2 separate regions of the Homo sapiens genome follow, and region 1 is linked to region 2. Evidence: promoter capture Hi-C in human tissues and cell types (Jung and others, 2019). All regions are on one chromosome and are shown on one strand. The core of a region is centred on a gene start or on the middle of the fragment in contact, and the rest is flanking DNA. Distances in the headings are between cores, read along the strand shown.

Evidence for each region. Contacts are between HindIII fragments. The study calls those that stand out against the background at their distance.
Region 1: a contact is called between a fragment that was not itself captured here and the fragment with the promoter of UBAP2 in region 2, in 2 of the 25 tissues and cell types used here (lymphoblastoid cells and spleen).

What each region holds. Positions count from the first base shown.
Region 1 is chr9:33,920,537-33,924,816 of GRCh38, forward strand. UBAP2 (ubiquitin associated protein 2) reads right to left here. Exons shown (of 29, transcript NM_001370062.2): 23 at 3,670-3,748; 24 at 3,259-3,464; 25 at 2,843-2,942; 26 at 2,650-2,757; 27 at 2,430-2,497; 28 at 2,151-2,342; 29 at 1,157-2,063. The coding sequence ends at 1,968. Among named protein-coding and RNA genes, the nearest start is that of SNORD121B, 12 kb to the right of the region's middle. The HindIII fragment of the contact is 6,345 bases long and covers 1-4,280 here.
Region 2 is chr9:34,046,556-34,050,792 of GRCh38, forward strand. UBAP2 (ubiquitin associated protein 2) reads right to left here and starts at 2,332. Exons shown (of 29, transcript NM_001370062.2): 1 at 2,270-2,332. It also overlaps the pseudogene RN7SKP114. RefSeq lists enhancers at 1,442-2,298, 2,299-3,154, 2,435-2,964, 3,155-4,011, 4,012-4,237 and silencers at 2,115-2,164, 2,315-2,404. The HindIII fragment of the contact is 41,306 bases long and covers 1-4,237 here.

The sequences.
Region 1 (4,280 bases), core at 1,569-4,068, 130 kb before region 2:
CTAACTAACTCACCTCCCTGGTGTATCCCCAGTCCCTTCAAGCTCCTTATAGACGTAGCCATTTGTTAAACTTGATTCTGAAAACGGGAGCTGATACAAGTAGGTCAGTGAAGGATTGAGGGGTGCTCTGCTGCTTTCCTTAGGCAAACATTTTCACTGTCATTTGTTTTCCTAACTTACTGCTGCTAATAGCAGGGATCAGGCAGATCACCCTATTTAATAAAAGTCCTAATTTTACCTGTAGACACTTACCTTTTTTCTAGGTAAGGTCCCAAGCTGTGGGTTAATAGGAGTATCGGTCCCATCTGATGACAGGACCATCGCTCTCAATTGTAGAGGCCAAAAGCAGAAAAAGTAGATTGTGACCCCAGGCTGGTTCTGACACAATCAATCAATCAATCACCTGACTAGCCATTTTATTTCCTCCTTTAACCTGATCTGAAGCAGCGATTTAGGAGTGAAAAGAGAGGCTGTAGCACCTTGGGCAACACTTCTAGGCCCTGAGCTTCCTGCCTGCTGGATTGGAGCACAGTTGTGGTTGGCCAACAGGAGATCTGCCTCCTTCCTATGGCCCTTGGTTACTCCCTGGCTTCTGACCTGACACAAGGTGAATGGTTGGTTGGGCTTTTCTGGAGCAGATATGTAGCCCCGGATCCACCAGCCTACCTCATGACACCCTCACTAGTCACGTGTTCTACCATAGCTTTTGACTGCCAATCAAGATTATGTTCAGTTGATGACAAGCAAAAGACAGGTATACCTGTTCATACTCTCCCTTAAGGCCTAGAACCCTGCTCTCAGTTCTTGGCTTTGCTTCAGATTGTAAAAGTCCACTGAGATTTGGAAAAGAAATTACCCTGCCCTGGTATCCAGTGGACAGGGCTCTGTGGGACACTGCCCTATCCCTAAGTCTCTTAAGGAGCTATAAGAAAAGCCAGGTTAACTTTGATCAACATGGCCTGGGCCCTGTAAGGAGGTTTAGCTGTCCTTACAGCCATTGTGATTTGGGCCAAGAGGGTCCAGTAAAAAGGAAAACCATTTCAAGCCTTTATAGCCTGTGTCAGAAGACTATGACCATGTGGGATCTCCTTTAGCCCTGTGAAGTCCAGGGCTTCTGCCCTGAGCTGCCCTTCAGTCACACCACACAGAGACCATGCATGCTCTCAGAACTTTATTAGGTGGGGATTGGGCAAGAGAAAACCCCTGAAACAGTTGCCCACGTGGTTCAAGACAACTAGAATGGAGATGTGTTGCTTGGAGATACCTTAGATTTTTAAAGGGGAGCTGACTGGCTGAATAACTCAGATTATTTTTTTTTTTTTCATGGTCAGCCAGTCTCTAGTAAGTCTCTAGGGACATGACCAGACCAGAAGCCCCTGTTCTATATGAAGACAAACAGGTGGCCATACTTGGGTGGAGGGATACCGCTGCTATTCCCAGATGAAGATTTGGTGGAAGGAGACCATGACAGATGACAAACGGAACAGTTTCTCAAAAACAGAGGTATGAAGTAATTACACAGGAAAGAAAACAATTTCCAAAGGAGTGAGACAAGTCGTGATTCTTCATTGGTACCTGACCCCTATACCCAAACAGCCTTGAACCAGCCCTTCCAGAGACTGCCCCTAGTGGCCCACTGGGCAGTGCAGGCTGTGAAGAAGACCTGAAGGCAGATGGGGTGGGGGTGCTTATTTTGCTACAGTGGAGAAGGGGCTTGAATGGGGAGGGCAGACCTGGCTAACATCTGCCGCCATCCCCCAACTCCCCCCCAGACTTCTATCACATTTACAAATACATACATAAATACATTACATACAGTAGCCAGTCTGGGAGGCAGACTCCCCACAGAGGCATGGCTGACACATGTCGGGAATTCTAGGAAAGGGCACTGGGCTCCCAAATACGTGCTCGTGTGTTCTCTCCTGCCCAGGATAAGCCTTGCCCCAGCCCACCCCTCTCTTCTGGGTTTAGTTTGTCCAGTATGGAGAGTTGCCGTAGGCAGGTTTGGAGGCTTGAGACTTGGGCTGCAGGGAGCTGGGCTGGCTGCGCTGACCCGAGCCACTCTGAGGAAGAGGAGAAGGGAAGGCTGTCAAGGCTGGAGCAGAACCCCTGGCCCAGAGTAGGGTGGCTGCCTCCATCACTGTACTCACCTGTGCATCCTGCGGAAGGTGGTGGTGCAGCAGCTGTGAGTGGGGCTGCTGGTGGGCTGGCAAGATGTGTAGGAATGGTGGGGGTGCATAGCCAGGGGCCGCTCCCGAGGCCAGGGGCCCAGTGGAGCCCAAGACCGAGGGCAGGCTGAAAGGTGGAGGCGTCCCTGCATGAAATCCCTGCTTGTCAAAAGTCTACAGGGCAAAGAAGACAATGGTGAAGGTCAGGTTGGGCTGTAACCTCTCAAAAACCTATACACCCAACCCACCTTTGTCCCTCACCTGTGTCTTATTGTAGACAGAACCAGTCATATCAGGTAGACCAGTGGTGCTTGAAGACACTGATACTCCTAGGAGGAAAAGCAGTTGTTCCCCACAGCAGTTGTTCCCAGCTCCAGGCTCCCCACCTCCAGGATCACTCAGGGGTTGCCCTGCCTGAGAGGGGATCAGGCAGGAGCCCACCACTCCAGGCCTTATCCTGGAAAGGAGAGGTAAACACTACCTTTGCCAGGCCCAGAACCTGCAGACTTGTTTGGTGCCTGCGATGATCCAGCATAGCCACCTTTGGAGTAGTCTCCTGCTGCTGTCCCCTGGGTCAGGTCGTCATAACCTAGCGTGGCAGGGTACAAGAGGCAAGTGTGAGCCAGGCAAGCCTGTCTAACCCCATGTGTCTCTGTCTGGGAAGTACCCCTCACCTGTACTGTAGCCGTGCTGGCCATAACCACTGGCCTGCTGGAAGGGAGGTGTGGGAGTGCTGAGGTTCACCCCATGTTGCTTGGCTGAGGCTGGAGGGACCTGGGGGGGCAAGCAGATGAGGTATTAGTGTAGGAAGAGGCAAGCTGAGGCTGGTCAGGTACCCCTGCCAGAGCCTAAGGCAGCAGGTGACATACCCACAACCACAGGGGACCTGTGTTTTCATTAGTGCAACACATGCTGGATCTAAACACAGCAGGGGAAAAGTGACCTTGTCCCCAGCCTGAACAGTTTCTGAAGACCAGGTAAGACGGAGTGGAATCACAACCCTCCCTCCCTGCTGGAAGATAGGTCCCAGGTTTCCACCTGCCAGCAACCCAAGGCCAGGAGACACAGTCACACCCTCTGAAATACTCACAAACATGGTGGGGCCATACTGGAAGGCACTGGGCATGCCTGTGTAGTAGGGAAGACCAGTGTAGCTATAGCCAGGTGGCAGTGCAGGATTCACGAAGGGCTGCTGGGCTGTGTGGTGGGTCTGTGATTGGCTCTGCTGTGGCTGAGCTGGTGTGGTAGCGGGTGCAGGGGATGCAGAGTCCCCACGGCCAAACTTTGTGACATCACCTAGGAAAGAGCACTGACTCCAGCCACTGCCCTTCCTCCAACCAGAGAAAGGCCACACTGGCTTCTGCAAACAGGAACAGGTCTGGCTGCCAGCTCAGCACAGGCTACTAAGAGGCCTCTCTCAGCTTGCTGTTGCTGCTTCCCAGCTCCTGGAGTTCGCGCTAGGCCGGCCCCGGGCTACTCCTCATCCATTGAGCAAACTCACCTGGATATGGATTATTAGCTAGGCTCCCATCTCGGCTGGCAAGCGCTGTGGGTGCAGCAAAGGGAATTCCATAGTAGTCCTAGGAGAGACCAGGGAGGCTTGATCAGCGACTGGCCCTGCTTGACTCCCAGGAGAGCAGAACCAGCACATGGAAGTGGTGACGCCACACTCCTGAAACAGACTCCATGCCTGAGAGCCAGCAGTCCCAGGGAACGCCAAGTAAATGGTGCCCCTCGGAAGAGTGTGCAACTAGGCGGCCTGCCTAACACATAAGCACACAGACCGGCCAACCCTGCAGCTTCACCAGGCAGAGCTGCTGGAGACCAAGCCTCACACATCCATTTGACACCACAGGCAGGTGCTTGTGTGAATGCCTCGGGCTGAACCAACTTCGCTGGCTTTTCTGTGTGAGAGACTAGAGCAGCTAGGAAAGCTGACTAAACAGAGCAGACCTGAAAAAGGAGGCAACAGAAGTGCAGGGGCCTGAAAGGTTTAAGGGGGGACAGGGGGCAGTGCCAGGTAGGCACGGGAATAAGCAGGACCCCAGGTGAAGCCCAGAACTGGCCTGTCACCACCTACACTGCTCTCAAAACACTGACATGGCCTAGGAC
Region 2 (4,237 bases), core at 1,082-3,581:
ATGGCGTGAACCCGGGAGGCGGAGCTTGCAGTGAGCCGAGATCAGGCCACTGCACTCCAGCCTGGGCGACAGAACAAGACTCCATCTCAAAAAAAAAAAAAAAAAAAAAAAAAAAAAGAAGGCTTCACTTCAGACCACTCCAAACCTTCAAGAAAGGTTTGTACTTTCTACACATATTTTATACTTAAGAGGGTAGATACCGGGACCAGTTCCCATCACAATACAAGTACATATTGAAATAAACCTATTAGTCTACATGTTCTCACACCATCACACCATTTCTCCCCATACAATAAAAGTCACTCAGGCTAATACTAAGAGAGACACTCCTGGTGATCACTACATAGACTGCACTAGTAACCAGGAAAGGGAAGCAGAGGTGTTATTGTTGTTCCAATATAGTTCTAAAGGCAACTCCATGTGACTACTGCTGATCCAGCCCACATTTAAAGGGAGGACAGAGGAAACCAGAGCAGCAGGAAACAGGCAAGAGAGGCAATTACCACAACCCTTTCCCATGGCCTCATTCTCTCCCATGCCACCACTTTCGGGCATATTTCAATCACAACAAAAACCTTCCTTCTCTGAAAGGTTTCATAATTATTGAGGGTGAGAGGCAACAGGGAAGCAAATGGGGGAAATCAGCGCTGTGGGAAAATCTCTCGTCACACGTATCAACTAGCCATAAGTAGGAAAATCAGGAGTATGCTGGCAGCAAGCAAAAGGGCAGTTTGGGAAACTAATCACTTCTGCCTAATGATAAGAGAAGCCTTCAAAGCAATGGAAGGACAACCCTAGCGAAGGGGCTCCACAGGTGAGTGTATTGAAGGAAACTATCATCTCCAGGGAGTGGAATACATTCCCTTTCCTGAGGTAAAAGGGGAACACACCAATGTAGGATACGGGAGAGCTTAGGTATCATGTTCAACTTCCTTCCACCTTTCACAAACTGGCACTAAAACGGATACACAATTCACAGTGAAAAGTGAGGAATGCAATAACTAGTCGCATACCCCTTGTTGAAAAAAGTGCTGTCACAACGGAAGAGGAATATAAGAACTGGGTTCACCCAAGAAATTATATGCCCTTCAAATAAAAGATAATCTTTGGATACCTTATGGAGACCTGAAAAAACCCTCAACTAGCTGAGCACCGTGGTGCACACTGTAATCCCAGATACTCAGGAGGCTGAGGTGAAAGAATCGCTTAAACCCAGGAGCTGGAGGCCAGCCTGGGCAACATATGGAGACCATATCTCTAAAATTAATAGTAATTTTTTAAAATCTCTCAACTGTTAGGATACACTGGTGCTGTAGAAAGACAATAAGCCTAAATACTGGCAAACCATATACCTTCCTTGAATGTGAGGTAAAAACAATATCCAATAGAAGTGGTAGTAAATGACTGGATTACATCAAACAGGAAATAACAGTAATAATGATGGGATCAACCCCTAAAGCGAGCAAGCATTAGAGACCAGAGTGGTGACAGTTGAGATGCGTGGGCAACTAATTAGACTAAAAACTCAGGGGAAAATGTGGAAAAGCCGAGTGGGAAAGTGATTCAGAGGCAAACAACTGAGTTGTAATGCACCAATGAAAGAATAACATTTTGAGTATGTATTATTAACAGAGAGAGCTTTGCCGTTTACAAAGCGCTCAAAAACCTACATTAAATAATGAACTGTGATATAACCAGACTACAGGAACGGCGGGTGTGGAGGAAAACTGAGTCCCAATTGAGACCAATGCCCTACAGAATTGAAAAGAAGTAGAACTGAACTGTGACTCCGGGTAAGCCAGGAAAGGTTAGAGAGCGCATAAGTTGGGGCTATAACAGGGCCAGTCCCAAGACTAGCTACGGGCGTGAAAGCGGAAAGGTGATGAGATGGGACCGACAGCGTGGCGGGGAAGCTCCAGTCTACTGGCAGGCACCGAGGTGGGAGAGAAAACCACACCCTCCAGGGCAGAAACCCGAAAGGGGGGAGGGGAGGCACCCCTGGGGCTGGGTGGGGCCCAGCCGACCTGGACGGGGGAAAGTAGGAAGAAGCACAGGGCAACGTGAGGGGAAGAGGAAGGAGGGAGCCCGGGCCTGGACGTAGAGGGACCGTGGACCTGGCGAGTGAAGCTCGGCCCGGTCCTCACGGGTGGGCGCCGGGGCAGTCTGCAGGCGGTGGGGTTTCAGACGAGCTGAACCCAGAATTAGAAAGCACACGCTGCAGCGCTCAGGGCCCTGGAAGAGGGAAGGAGAGGGAGAGGATGGCAATTACCGCTGCTGCTCTCGGAGGACCCAAGACCCGCTGCCGCCGCCGCCGCTCGTTACCTGCCAATGTGCCTCTTACAAAGCGGCGGCGGCGGCACAGGCTGCCCAACCCGTCACGTGACCTCGCGTCACGGGCGAAGGAGGAGCCACAACACGTCGCTCGTGCGCGGCTTCAGAGTCAGCCTAGGCGGCGCGCGGCCTCTTCCAGCCACCACCTCCACCCCAACCCCGCGAAGCCAACCGCGTGGAGGTGGGGACCACAGAAAGGAACAAATAAGGGAGACTTGATAATATGTATTGTACTCGGAGTCATCAGGAGAGTATTACCCACCGCATACAAGGTGCCCACAACTGCAGCTCGTCGTCGCGCCGTGATGACCTCACAAAGCACCACAGGTTACTCCCCTGTGGCCGCCCTGTGCTCATCACGTGATGTGGTCCAACCACTCAGGGCAAGCCTGGCCTCCCAAATGTTGCACGAGGGGACCACGACTCCCAACATGCTGCACAGCCAAGGCGACCCCTACCGCAGCCTTTCTCCAGCGGGCTTCTAGACGAACCCCCTAGAGACCTTAGAGCCGAGGGAAGGCCGGGACGGAAAGCGGACTAAGCTGGCTTGAAGGACTAATACCATTGGATGCCGCCCGCCATGTGGCGGAGCGTGGTGCCTGCTGGGAGGTGTAGTCCTGGCGGGGGGTGGGGTTCCGCTCCCACGTTCCTGGGCTCGCTCTGCGCCCTGCCCCCTGCGCGGGAAAACGCCAACGGCTAGCAGCGAGAGCCTCGGCAAGGCGGAAGGTGCGCCCACTTTTAGTCTTTTTCAGTGCGGTTTTACTTTTGCCCTCCCAAGCCCCTTCTGGGTGAAAAGACTAGAATCTACTGAACGCCTACTCCAAGTCAGCCGTTTATTTCTGTTATATCATATAATCAACTCCTTGAGTCCAGGATTTTCCCTATTTAAGGATTTAAAAAAAGAACCTTAGAGTTGTTTGTTGACCGAAGAGACCCAGGTTTTCTGTCTTTAGAAAATTAATGACCTCCTCTCAATAGGATCTGACCTGTTGTCAACTCCAAGAATTACGAATAAATAAGATGATGGTTTATAATTGTAGCATGGTGTTTTAAAGTATTTTCCATTTACTGGCCTGTTTGGATGTGAGGGCGTTCTGGCTATCTTGTCACCCCATAGATCGCCAGGGCTGATTCGGCTGATCTGGCTGTCTAGGCGGGTGGCCCCTTCCTCCCGCACCTCTCCATGTGCGTCCCTCCCGAAGCTGCATATTCGGTCGAAAAGGAGGAGCATCCCCCATAGAAGAGGACAAGTCAAGGATATAGGAGTAGCTGCACGCCCGTGTTAACAAGCTCTCAAGGTCCTCTAAACAAGCTCTCAAGGTCTACTTACTGGCCTGTTTTATCCCAAGCTAGTTACATACAAGGACTTTGCAGTCCCGGCATGCCTTATCTCAATTGGAGCTTTCCTCTGTAATAACACTTCACCGGCTTGTGAAAATTAAATGAGATTATGTAAAATGCCTGCTTGACACATAATAAACCCTCAGTAAGTATCAGTAATCATTTTCACACTCTACCCATCGGGCCCAAAAGGTCTAAGTAAGGTAGAAAGGGGAAATTAGCTTATACTGAACTTTGTACAGGGCACTATGCTAATTACTAATTTGCTAGTTATTAAGTAAAACAATTGACATCTTAAACAGCCCTATCTAGTTCAAATAAAGCCTTTGTTATTCATCTGAATTAAAGAATGCTGCCGGGCGTGGTGGCTCACACCTGTAATCTCAGCACTTTGGGAGCCGGAGGAGGGCGGATCACAAGATACGGAGTTTGAGACCAGCCTGACCAACACGGTGAAACCCCGTCTCTGTTAAAAATACAAAAAAATGTCCGGGCGCGGTGGCTCACGCCTGTAATCCCAACACTTTGGGAGGCCAAGGCGGGCCGATCACGAGGTCAGGAGATC